2 separate regions of the Homo sapiens genome follow, and region 1 is linked to region 2. The links are contacts of gene promoters, found by promoter capture Hi-C in human tissues and cell types (Jung and others, 2019). All regions are on one chromosome and are shown on one strand. Each heading gives the region's core, a stretch centred on a gene start or on the middle of the fragment in contact. The rest is flanking DNA. Distances are from core to core; before and after follow the strand shown. Region 1 holds the start of AANAT (aralkylamine N-acetyltransferase). Region 2 holds the start of SRP68 (signal recognition particle 68).

Region 1 (6,511 bases), core at 2,358-4,857, 390 kb after region 2:
TGTCTCCATGCGGGAAGCTCCCAGATTCCAGGTCCAGGGCTTCTGCACTGGGCCCGGTGGGGATGCTCACTGCCCCTGCACCAGGCTCTCCGGGGGTATCAGCAGCTGCAGCAGGCTCGGTGCCCGGGATGGGGTGGGGGCCGTGGGGAGGTTTTCTCCAACCCCCGGCCGTGGCAGCGAGTCAGTGTGCCTTTAATCAACGGCCTCTGCACTCCACCTCTCACTGTCACCATTAAGGCCATTCCTCTGCATCTGGCCTCTCCACCCATTTCTCCCTTCTGGAAGGATTCCTTTTTTTTTTTTTTTTGAGATACAGTCTTGCTCTGTGGCCCAAGTTGGAGTGCAGTGGTGCAATCTTGGCTCACTGCAACCTCTGCCTCCTGGGTTCCAGCAATTCTCCTGCCTCAGCCTCCCGAGTAGCTGGGATTACAGGCACCCACCACCACGCCCAGATCATTTTTGTATTTTTAGTAGAGACGGGGTTTCACCATGTTAGCCAGACTGCTATTGAACTCCTGACCTCGAGCTATCCACCCACCTCAGCCTCCTAAAGTGCTGGGATTACAGGTGTGAGCCACCGTGCCCGGCCTTTTCTGGAAGGATTCTTAAAGGTCATCGGAGCCTCCCTGTTGGCAGAATCTGAGATCTGTTCTCCATTCTTTGTGGCATTTCAGGCTCTATCTGCCCCATTTCTTGGACATTCTCCCCTGGGTTCTTCCCTTCTTGTGGCTTCACCTGTGTTCCTGTTAATAACTCCTTTCCCTGCTAACAGTGGACATCCCAAAAGCTTGGTTCTCAGCTTTCGTGTGGTGATACACATCCTCTCAGAACCTTTTTTACTGTCATGATATCAGTTATCCGCTCAATAACTGTCGTCATCATCCTCACCACATCTGATTAGGAGTGGGATGGGGGCTCTGATGGGTCAGAGGTGAGGCTCTACCAGGGCAGGTGGGGAGTTAGGTAGCATGGTCCCTGGCAGTTCTCTGTGTGCCCTGGACAACCCCTCTCCAAACTGCTATAGAATATTCTGGAGTCCTGCCTGGGTGCGGTGGCTCACGCCTGTAATCCCAACACTTTAGGAGGCTGAGGCAGGTGGATCACCTGAGTTCAGGAGTTTGAGACCAGCCTGACCAATATGGCGAAAGCCCATCTCTAGGAAAAATAAAAAAAATTAGCCAGGCATGGTGGTGTGCGCCCGTAATCCCAGCTACTTGGGAGGCTAAGGCAGGAGAATTGCTTGAACCTGGGAGGCGGAGGTTGCAGTGAGCCGAGATTGTGCCATTGCACTCCAGCCTGGGCCACAGAGCAAGACTCTGTCTTAAAAAAAAAAAAAAAAAGAATATTCTGGAGTCTTGAAGTGGAAGCCCAGTCACAGACCATGATTTTCATGGGACCGAAGAGCCTTTTGGGAGAAAACTGAACCCCATCTGGCATTTGAAATGTGTAAATCTGTCTGGGAGATCGAAAGAGGCCAGGCTGGGTGGAGAGACAGGGGGACCCCTGAGGGGAGCCATCATGGGTGAGGCAGGGTGGCATGGTACACACTGGGCAGGGAGTCGCGGTGGGTGAGTTGTGGATACAGGACTTTCAAGGGAGCTGCTGCTGGAGGGAGAGGCTGGGAACAAAGAGCCTCGGCCTCCCAAAGTGCTGGGATTACAGGCATGAGCCACGACGTCAAGCCATTTCTGTGGTTTACAGTCATCCAGTTTGTGTATCATCTGTTACAGCACCCCTGGGAAACATACAGATGCCAGCTTCTCCCTGTCTGTATCTATATATTTTTTTTTTTTGAGATAGCAGTTTCACTCTTTTTGCCCAGGCTGGAGTACAATGGCACGATCTTGGCTCACTGCAACCTCTGCTTCCTGGGTTCAAGCAATTCTCCTGCCTCAGCCTCCCAAGTGGCTGGGATTACAAGCGCCCACCACCACACCTGGCTGATTTTTTGTATTTTTAGTAGAGACGGAGTTTCACCATATTGGCCAGGCTGGTCTCGAACTCTTGACCTCAGGTGATCCACCCGCCTCAGCCTCCCAAAGTGCTGGGATTACAGGCATGAGCCACCGTGCCCGGCCTTGCCCATCAGGTTAGGTGTTTATCAGCTGTCTAGAGTGACTGAACAGGTACGACTTGGGGGGCAAAGGACACATTCTCCCCCCCATCCCCAAGATCCACCTGAGAGGCAGTCACCAGAGGCGTTGCCAGCACTCTTAACTGCAATAGCAGGACAAGACTGGGCATCTGATAAACAGTGCAATCGGTGTCCCTGGCGTGAGGATGATCTCGGAGGTGCTTCTTTTTTAGAGCCCACCTGAGGTCAGGATTTTTTTTTTTTTTTTTGAGACAACATCTTGCTCAGTTACCCAGGCTGGAGTGCAGTGGCTCATCACTGCAGCCTGAACCACCTAGGCTCAAGTGATCTTCCCACCTCAGCCTCCCAAGTAGCTGGGGCTACAGGTGTGTGCCACCATGCTTGGCTGATTTTTAAATTTTTTGTAGAGACAGGGGTCTTGCTATGTTGCCCAGGCTGGTCTCAAACTCCTGGGCTCAAGTGATCCTCCTGCCTTGGCCTCCCAAAGTGCTGGGATTACAGGTGTGAGCCACTATGCCCAGCCCCAGGGATCTCCTTCTCTCTGTACCCATCACCCTGTTGGGCCCCTCACCCTCCTTATTTTCCTTCTCATTGGTGGTGGTATGTGGTTTTCTTCCTGTTGACCAGGACAAAGGTCCCAGCGATCACCCTGCCCTCCCCTGTCTCCTCTCCTGTCCCACAAGGGTTTGAACTTCCCAGTTTCACCATGTTTAACATACCGCCTCATCTTTAAAAAAAATTTATTTTTATTTGTATTTTTTTGAGACAGGGTCTCGCTCTGTCGCCCAGGCTGGAGTGCAGTGGCGAGTCACTACAGCCTCGACCTCTCCGGCTCAAGCCATCCTCCCGTCTCTGTCTCCCAAAGTGCTGGGATTACAGCGGTGAGCCACTGTGCCTGGCTTACTGCCTCATCTTGTTCCCTGAGGTTCTAGACCTCTAGGGTGTTGTCCGGAAAGAACAGGGCCATGTGGAAGTCAGCAAAGAGAGAGGCCGATTGAACAGCAGGCTCTTCTCAGGCATCGCCAAGTGACTGATTAGGATTGGCCACCAGGGGGTGCCATGGAGCCACAGTCTATGAAGGGACAGAAGAGGCCTTTTGGGGGACCCTGGAGGTTGAAGGTGGGGATGCCCAGCTGAGGTCTTGGACATGACCACCCCACCAACCAAGCCCAAGGAGGTCTCTGGTCGGTCCTGAGAGGTCTGTTGAGGGTCCCTTCTAGCAGGCAGGTGGGCCTCAGAGTGCAGAGGGGCCCTGGGAGAAGGGGACCCAGAGACAGGAGGAATGCATGTGGTGGGTGGGCGGGGGCATCGGGACGGGGTCACTCCACGGTCAGGGGCTGTGTCCCAAACCGTATGGGTAGGAACAGGAGCTTCCTCTGCGGGGGGGTCGAAAGAGTGCACCTGTGAGGACACTGAAAACCAGCAGGAGAATCATGAAGACAGGAAACAGGAGTCTCATTGTGAGATGAGTGGGTCCCACCAGTGCAGCCGTGGCAGTGCATGTCAGGAGGCTGACCCGGCTTTGCCCCTCCCCCTTCACTTGTTGGATGGCTCTGAGCAGGTTACTGAACCTGTCTGTGCCTCGGTTTCCTTCTCTATAACGTGGTTAATACTCATTTGGCCGGGCTTCCGTGTGGATTAAAGGAGACGCGTATCCAGGGCCCGGCACATAGCAAGTGCTGTAAGCAGTGGCACTCACAGGCTGCCAGGACAGGAAGGACCCTCAGAGGTCCGTCCCAAGCTGTGTGGGTAGGAGCAGAAGCTTCCTCTGCAGGGGGTCAAAAGAGTGCACCTGTGAAATCCAACCTCCAGGACCCCCAGGAGCCCGAGATGGACACAGGATCTGCACTGCTGGGTGGGGCGGAGAGGCAGGTGCTGGCGAGAGAAGAGCTAAGGGGTGCAGGATGGGGTGTGAGCTGGAGGGCAGGGGGTAGTCAGAGCCAACAGGGAGAGGGGCCTGCATCCCGAGGGAATGCCAGCACCAAGTGCCAAGGCCTGGGCAGCCCTGGGAATGGGTGGAGCCAAGGTCAATAGCAGAGAGCTTTGTAGTTGAGATGTTTGGTAGGGCAACCTCCTGAATATTTAAATATTTAATTAAATTAAATATTTAAATAAACTTGAAGTAGAACGTACTTAAAGTGCACAAATTGGTAGCTTGAATTCCCACCCCCTCCCCCCACATAAGAGGTGGGCTTGTCCAAGACTCCGAGGGACAGAGGGAGAATCGCTGGTGCCCAGCCAGTCGGTGACAGAGCAGGGATTAGAGATGGACCCCTGAGGCTTAGCCCCACGCTCTCTTCCCCAAACCCTGGGGCCTCAGTCAGCCTCTGGTAATCCCTTCTGTGCCCAGGGCACCAGAGCTGACGTTTCCCTTCAGCAAGGCAGGGGCCGAGGCTGCCAGAGCCCTGCTGGCGTCATCCTGCCTGGGATAGCTCGAGAGGTGGGGTGGGGGGATTACAAACCTCTAACAGCACCACAGGCTGCCCGGGGAACATCTGCTACTACAGCCTTGCAGCCCGGAGTCCCGGATTTTACTGGTTCCCGTGCCTGCGGACAGGCCCCCAGGGCTAGCGGCTTTGTGGAGGGAACACTGGGTATCCTCTCCACAGTCCAGGTAGGTGGGACCCCCACTCCTGGCTCTCAGCCTTTAGGAACAGGAGCTTCTCTACTTGGAGCTTCTAGACATGGAGGGAAACATGGAAGCCATGGAGTTTATTAAGTGTCTTGGAAGGTGGAGGGAGGGATGGCCTCCTCTAAGAACTGCAAATCTGCAGGGTGTCTTGGGAGACAAGAGTGCCCAGAGGGGAATGTCTGATGAGCTGGATGTGTGGGGCAGGGGGTGTCCTATGCACTCTCCTTGCCTGCTCCTCCCCATTCCCCAGGCCCTCTGCAGCCCCCGGCTCCCTCTAACCTCCCCACCCCCCACCACAAATCCTGCATGTGTGTGGCCCAGTCTGAGGCCATCTGGATAGAAGTAGAGGCTCCCTAAGGGCCCACTTTGATTAAGGGGCTCTCTAGGACCAAGGGCTGAGGCTACCTAAAAAGCTCTCTGCCACAGGATCTTGCACCCAAAGGACCAGAAGCCTCCCTCTGGGGAGGTAAGATAAACCACATGAATGGTGGTGTGGGGGAACCGGGCGCCCACCCACTGCACAGTTGCATTAGACGTGGTCAGTGGAGGGTCACGAGTCCTGCCTCCCCTCCCACCGTGGGCAGCAGGGTTGGGGTGCCCCAGGCTCCACTGAGCCCTGCTCATCCCTGCCACCATCTCTGGGGCTCAGAAGCACCCAGACGGCACCCTGAGACCAATGTCTGCAGGTCTGCAAGGTGGCAAACCTCCAGGGATCCTTCTGGCTGAGAGGGAAAGGTGGGGAGACAGTGCCAATGTTTGCAATGCCTGGTAACAGCCTCGGGGACCAGGTACCTGGGGAATGTGCCCATTGATTTAGGGGCTGTCTCCACCCCAGTTCCTGCTACAAAAGAGGCCAGATACATACTCTGGGGCCTGCCTCCCTGGAGATGAGGATGAGACCCCTGTCCCTTGCTGTTCTCCAACAGGTGCTGGGAGGCCCTCCTTGGCTTAGGAGGACACTTCCAAAGCTGGGGCGCCCCAAGGAGGCACCAGTGGCCAGAATGTCCACGCAGAGCACCCACCCCCTGAAACCTGAGGCCCCACGTCTGCCACCTGGGATCCCCGAGTCCCCGAGCTGTCAGCGGCGCCACACACTCCCTGCCAGTGAGTTTCGCTGCCTCACCCCGGAGGACGCTGTCAGCGCCTTTGAGATCGAGCGTGAAGGTGAGTGGCCCCGCACAGGGTCAGAGGGATGCTCCACTCTGGTCCAGTTATCCTGTGGGGAGGAGACCCTTAGTCTCCTGTCCTTGGAGGCTGGGTCCCAGAGTATCAGACCATGTGTGCGCTCAAGAAAGTGGGGGAAACAGCAGCCCTAACCCCCATTTTCCTGTGGGGAACGGGGCATCTGAGTGGACACTCGGGGTGCAGCAGACAGTGGACGCGAGGCACAGCGACTACCAGTCACCCACCTGAGCCTCCTGCCACAGCCTTCATCTCCGTCTTGGGCGTCTGCCCCCTGTACCTGGATGAGATCCGGCACTTCCTGACCCTATGTCCAGAGCTGTCCCTGGGCTGGTTCGAGGAGGGCTGCCTTGTGGCCTTCATCATCGGCTCGCTCTGGGACAAGGAGAGACTCATGCAGGTGAGGACAGGGCTGCGACGCCCAGCTCCAGGGAGGCCTCTGAAGACAGAGGTCAGCCAGATGGCGGGGAGGGGAGCCCAGGGGCTGGGATTTCTTCCTCCAGAACTGGAGAGATGAGTACAGGCCACAGGCCCCTCCCAGAGCAAGACCTTCTGGGTCTTCAAGTTTTCTCCATGGGGTTGGGGGTATGGCTCCCAATTTG
Region 2 (6,623 bases), core at 3,344-5,843:
GTCAAGTTGAAAGGACATGGGTAATCATTCTCTTGTTAGCACCTTCAGCTGCAGTGGACTGATGGCGGGGCCTAGAAAGAATGAGGGGCTGGGTGCAGTGGCTCACACCTGTAATCCCAGCACTTTGGGAGGCCGAGGTGGGCGGATCACTTGATGTCAAGAGTTCGAGACCAGCCTGCCCAACATGCAGAAACCCCGTCTCTACTAAAAATACAAAATTAGCCAGTTGTGGTGGCACATGCCTGTAATCCCAGCCTACTCGGGAGGATGAGGCAGGACATTCGCTTAAACTCAGGAGGTGGGGGTTGCGTTGAGCCAAGATTGCGCCATTGCACTTCAGCCTGGGCAACAACAGTAAAACTCCGTCTCGAAAAAAAAAAAAATTAGCCAGGCATGGCGGGCGGGCGCCTATAATTCTAGCTACTCGGGAGGCTGAGGCAGAGAACTGCTTAAACCCGGGAGGTGGAGGTTGCAGTGAGCCGAGAACACGCCATTGCACTCCAGCCTAGGCAACAGAGCAAGACTGTGTCTGAAAAAAAAAAAAAAAAAGAAGAAGAAGAAGAATGAGGAGGATTCTAATAAATGTAAAGAAAGCAGGGAAAGGGGCATCCTGAGGAAGACTAAGATGACACCAAACATATGGAGAAAGAACTGCAGGCAGGTCTGAAGAAAAGTGAGGAAGCCAATTAGGTTATCGCCAAGAAGCACTACAAATGTCACCTCTATGCCAAGCCTCCTCCTCTATGCTCATGTAGCTCTTTATTCTTCCTTCTATTACAGTGTGTGACATTATAATTATGTTCTCACATAGTTGTCCACTAATATAAATCCCTTTAGTGCAGGGAGAATTATTTTTTTGAGACAGAGTCTCACTATGTTGCTGTTGCCCAGGCTGGGCTCGAACTCCGGGGCTTAAGCAATTCTCGGGCCTCATCCTCCCAAGTAACTGGCACTATGGCATGTGCCACCATTCCAGCTAGGATTTCATTTTTAAATTTTCCACAATGCCTTACCACAGTGTCTAATATGCAGATGTTCAATACATACATTTTGACTAAATTAGTTTAAAATATATATATAAATAAATAAATATATATATATATAAAATTGCACCAACCTTTAAGTCAAAGTAATACAGCACATAATTTACAATACAAAATGATATTTCAATACTACTTCAGGGGCCGGGCGTGGTGGTTCACGCCTGTAATCCTAGCACTTTGGGAGGCTGAGGCAGGCAGATCACTTGAGGTCAGGAGTTCGAGACCAGCCTGGGCAACATGGTGAAACCCCATCTCTACTAAAAATACAAAAATTAGCCAGGCATGGTGGTGCATGCCTGTAGTCCCAGGTACTCGGGAGGCTGAGGCAGGAGAACTGCTTGAACCCGGAAGGCGGAGGTTGCAGTACACCGAGATCGTGCCACTGCATTCCAGACTGGGTGACAGACAAAGACTCTGTCTCAAAAAAATAAGTAAATAAATAAAATGAAATAAAAATAAATAAATAGGCCAGGCACATTGGCTCACACCCGTAATCCCAGTACTTTGGGAGGCTGAGGCAGGTGGATCACCTGAGGTCAGGAGTTCAAGACCAGCCTGGCCAACATGGTGAAATCTTGTCTCTACTAAAAATTAGCCGGGCATGGTGGCATGTGCCTTCAGTCCCAGCCACTCAGGAGGCTGAGGCAGAAGAATCACTTGAACCCGGGAGGCGGAGGTTGCAGTGAGCCGAGATCGCGCCACTATACTCCAGCCTGGGCAACAGAGTGAGACTCCGTATCAAAAATAAATAAAATAAATACTACTTCAGCATCTCAATCAAAGCTACCAGGGTATAGATTATTTAAAAGAAAAAAAAAAAAAGAAATAGGCCAGACACGGTGGCTCACGCCTGTAATTCCAACACTTTGGGAAGCTGAGGTGGGTGGATCACCTGAGGTCAGGAGTTTGAGACCAGCCTGGCCAACATGGCGAAACCCCATCTCTACTAAAAATACAAAAATTAGCCAGGCATGGTGGCACATGCCTATAATCCCAGGTACTCTGGAGGCAGAAGCAGGAGAATCACCTGAACCCGGGAGGCATGGGCTGCAGTGAGCCAGGATTGCGCCACTACACTCCAGCCTGGGTGACAGAGTGAGACTCCATCTCAAAAAACAAACAAACAAACAAACAAAAAAAACAGCTACTCAGGAGGCTGAGGCAGGAGAATCGCTGGAACCCAGGAGGTGGAGGTTGCAGTGAGCCAACATTGCGCCACTGCACTCCAGCCTGGCGACAGAGCGAGACTCCATCTCAAAAAAAAAAAAAAAAACAAAGCAAACAAACAAACAAAAAAAACAATGCTCTAGACTTTCTAGCATATTTGCTGATATAGCAGAGTAAACAGGATATTAACAAAAGCAAAGCAAGTCCCACAATGATTTCCAAACATCTTGTATGTGATACTAACCTGTACCTCTGAAAATCTCCATGCCGTAAACCATGCTGCTGCTGGGATTCCTTAATAATCTGAAGAACTAGAGTCGAGATTAAGGAAAATCTTACCATAGCAAGAATCCAAACAAATCAAAACCTGTACCATCAGTCTATATCTGTGTCAAACCACAACACATTAAACATTTGTGAAATATAGCCAGGTACGGTGGCTCATGCCTGTAATCCCAGCACTGTGGGAGGCCGAGGCGGGTGTATCACCTGAGGTCAGGAGTTCAAGACCAGCCTGGCCAGCATGGTGAAACCCCGTCTCTACTAAAAACACAAAAAATTAGCCGGGCGCAATGGCTAGCACCTGTAATCCCAGCTACTCGGGAGGCTGAGGCAGGAGAATCGCTTGAACTTGGAAGGCAGAGGTTGCAATGAGCCAAGACAGCGCCACTGCACTCCAGCCTAGGTGAGAGTGAGATTCAGTCACACATGCACATGCACACACACACACACACACACACACACACAAATTTGTGAAATATTTAGTACACTGGTGAGATCTTTTGTAACCATTTTCAATATCTATCTTGTCACAGGACAGGGCTAACCTACAGGAAAACTGATTGCCTGAACTGTTACTACTTGCAAACTGAAAAAGGAGGGCACTACTGGCCACTGGAAACTGCCAAAACCCAGTTTAAATTAAGCTGATGGATTCTAAATGCTGACTATAATTGGGGTGCTTCACACCAATTAACACCTAGACCCCACATTTTATTCATTCAGATTCAGGTTATAAATGACATGTACTAAGCCTCCATTTGCATAATCTCCAACACCTGCCAAATCTAACTTTCCTTAACAGCTGTGATGCTTAGAGAGTCTATGATTAGCACATGTCAACCAAGCTAGGCTACAGTTTGCATAAAAGTATTAAGGTTTTTCTTTCAAAAGAAGAATGGCCAGATTCTCCTTTTAATAATCTTAAAATATTTAAGATTATGTACTAATCTTTAGAAAGTCCAATGACCTTCATCTATATAGGTATAGTTTTAATGTTTCCTCAACACTTCTCTAGAGACATATTTTAAAATAGTGAACGCTAAAAGGACTCTTTAAATTACTAAAACGGGACAAAGAGATATAAAGGTCTCAGTAAAATCAGGGCTCGCTAGCGTCTACTTGGAACTATTACCAGTAATTCAAAATATTTAACTCCAAGCGCCTGAGAACTTTAAGCACATTAAGATGTCAAGTTGAATGTGTTATTTCAGAAACTCGCCTACGTTTTCTCCATTTGTTATTCATTTCAAAAGGTCACAAACTAGTACCACAAGCACTTGGTTGAGATACACACTGATGGAAACTAGAAACCGATTCCTCCAGCTTATATGAATGACTGTCAGCAAGATAAAATGCCTACAGACCGATCAGAAAAAAATGACACAATCGATATTAACTACGGTAACTTACAATCAAAATGGGCAACAAGCTTTTCCTGAGTCAATCTTTACCTCCACTTTCAAAGTATCGAGCTGTAGGTTTTACTACTCAGTCTATGACGACTGTCAGACAAGAGTATTAAGCCAAATGTCAAGACTGCAGTTTCCTCTCCCCAGTTCAGTGGCTCAAGGTGCCAAAGCAAGGTGCTCAAGGTGTCACTTGGTCACAAGCCCTCCAACTGGACAACTGCGGGGCACCAGGGGAAACCTGCCTGATATCCCAGTGCCACTGGAAGAAACGGACCTAGCCAGGACGGCGAGGGGGACACGAGGAAAGACTAGTCGAGAGACAGACCCCCCCCGGAATTCTGAGCACCAAAAGGTAAGGGCGAGAGAAACTGCAACCCTCGGCCTCTCCTGCCAGGACTTGTCGGGACCCGCCGCCTCTCCCGCCCCCAGCCCTCCAGTTCGACACGTAATCATTGCGAGTTAGGCCCGATTACTCTAGGATACTCTCCAAACTCAGGCTATCCCCAAATTCTTTGTTTGCCTTCGATCCGGCCGAAGGGCGTTCGTTTTCTTTATTTTCTTCCCCTCCGGCACCACGTCCACCGCCGCTACCGCCGCCGCCACTGCCACCGCCGCCGCCACTGCCGCCGCCGCCGCCGCCGCCTGGGACCTGCTTCTCAGCAGCCATCTTGCCCCTGCGCCGCAGAGCAAGACGGGATAGGGGAGGCGGGACGACCTGGGCGGGTGAGAGCTGGACCTGCCTGGCCGGGCTGATGGGATAGCGGCGGACTCCGCCGCCGTCGGCCCTTGCTGCAGCAGGGCGCCATGTGCTGGAGCGCGCCTGCGCGAGGGATCCTGTCATCCCGGGTCCGGAATTGTGGCTGGCTAGGTGGGGACTTGAGGCCGCAGTGAGACCGTGGCTGCTGAGATCTCAGGGGGCAGTCCCACCTCCCACCCACTAAGGGCGGAGAACCGGAGGTGGACCCCAGGTCCTGCATCCTGGACTGGGGATCTGGTTCACGTCCTGCCCAGCAGAAAGCAGGAGACCAAAGATACTGGATTTCGGGGTGTCTGCATCCCCAGGGACTCAAGAGATGGGGTCCTCCCTACCGGAACGGGACACCCCGTCCGTAAGGGACCCGCCTCTGCCTGCCCTTTCCTCTGAGGCTGGCCGTAAGAACGCCAAGCCGGAGGAAGCGCTGCGCAGTCAGCAGACGGTGTCCTAACGGGGTGACTTTCTCAGACCGCTTGGGGCCGTGGACCACTGCACTTTGGGGCCGTCAGTCCAAAGAGGGAGAAGTGTTGAGACATGGGAAAATATGAATTTTTGCTTTGCACCTTCTAGAGTCTGAGACCTGGGATTCCAATCCCCGCTCCGTCATTAGCGGCAGGGACATGTTGGGCACGTAACTTAATCTCCCTGTAAATCTGTTCCTTCATCTATGAAATGGGGATAACCAATTTAAGTGGTTGTTAGGAAGATTAAATGACGGATTTTTTTTTTTTTTTTAGATAGAGTTTCGCTCTTGTTGCCCAGGCTGGAGTGCAATGGTGTGATCTCGGCTCACTGCAACCTCTGCCTCCTGGGTTCAAGCCATTCTCCTGCCTCAGCCTCCCGAGTAGCTGGGATTACAGGCGCCTGCCACCACGTCCCGCTAATTTTTGTATTTTTAGTGGAGACGGGGTTTCACCATGTTGGTCAGGATGGTCTCGATCTCCTGACCTCGTGATCCGCCCGCCTCGGCCTCCCAAAGTGCTGGGATTACAGGCGTGAACCACCGCGCCCGGCCCTGAACTCTATTTTGAATTTCCTCAAGGTATACGGAATAAGGTCAGGAGAAAAAGAATAAGGATCTGATGCATTCAGATTTAACTAACTCTCCCATACATCTCATTCCTTTCTCAGCAGATCCCTCTTAGAAGGAAGTGTTACCATTTCCTTGTTACAGCTGAGGAAACTGAGGCATGGAGCCAAAGACAGAGCCTGACACAATAGATGCTCAGTATATTGGATTGAATTGGAGGGAAAACGTTCAATGGGTAAGAGAAGGGAAAAAGGTGGCCGGGCTCGGTGGCTTACGCCTGTAATCCCAGCACTTTGGGAGGCCGAGGTGGGCGGATCACTTGAGGTCAGGAGTTTGAGACCAGCTTGGCCAACATGGTGAAACCCCATTTCTACTAAAAATACGAAAATAAGCCAGGCGTGGTGGCAGGCGCCCGTCATCCCAGCTACTCGGGAGGCTGAGGCAGGAGGATCGCTTGAACCCGGGAGGCGGAGGTTGCAGTGAGCCGATATCATGCCACTACACTCCAGCCTGGGCGACAGAGTGAGACTCTGTCTCAACAAATACAAATACAAAAAACTAGCCAGACGTTGTGGCGGACGCCTGTAGTCCCAGCCCCTCAGAAGGCCGAGGCAGGAGAACCGTTTGAACCCGGGAGACGGAGGTTGCAGTGAGCCGAGATCGCGCCACTGCACTCTAGCCTGGGCGAAAGAGCCAGACTCCGGGGCCCCTCATCCGCCTCCGCCCCGCGTTTCCTCCCCCCGATCTCCCAGGGGTCCTCTTTTGAGGGCACCCCAGCCCCTCGACGGTCCCGGGATATCCTGCACCCCTGCCAGGCTGCAGGGAAGCGCCGAGGCGCGCGGAGTGCGAGGTCCGTGCTCCCTGCGGCGCGGCGCACACGCAGGGTCCGGGGTCGACCCCTCCACCGCTCCGGCGTCTGCCGGGGAAGTCAGTCCGCC

The links. The method cuts DNA at HindIII sites, captures the fragments that hold promoters and counts their contacts. A contact is called where the count stands out against the background at its distance.
Region 1: a contact is called between a fragment that was not itself captured here and the fragment with the promoter of SRP68 in region 2, in 1 of the 25 tissues and cell types used here (spleen).

Annotation. Positions count from the first base shown.
Region 1 is chr17:76,463,019-76,469,529 of GRCh38, forward strand. AANAT (aralkylamine N-acetyltransferase) reads left to right here and starts at 4,585. Exons shown (of 4, transcript NM_001088.3): 1 at 4,585-4,709; 2 at 5,654-5,891; 3 at 6,155-6,309. The coding sequence starts at 5,729. The HindIII fragment of the contact is 7,095 bases long and covers 61-6,511 here.
Region 2 is chr17:76,067,924-76,074,546 of GRCh38, forward strand. SRP68 (signal recognition particle 68) reads right to left here and starts at 4,594. Exons shown (of 16, transcript NM_014230.4): 1 at 4,385-4,594; 2 at 2,455-2,521. The coding sequence starts at 4,568. It also overlaps a transcript of GALR2 not described here. RefSeq lists enhancers at 3,881-4,708, 4,707-4,756, 4,709-5,536. The HindIII fragment of the contact is 13,843 bases long and covers 1,333-6,623 here.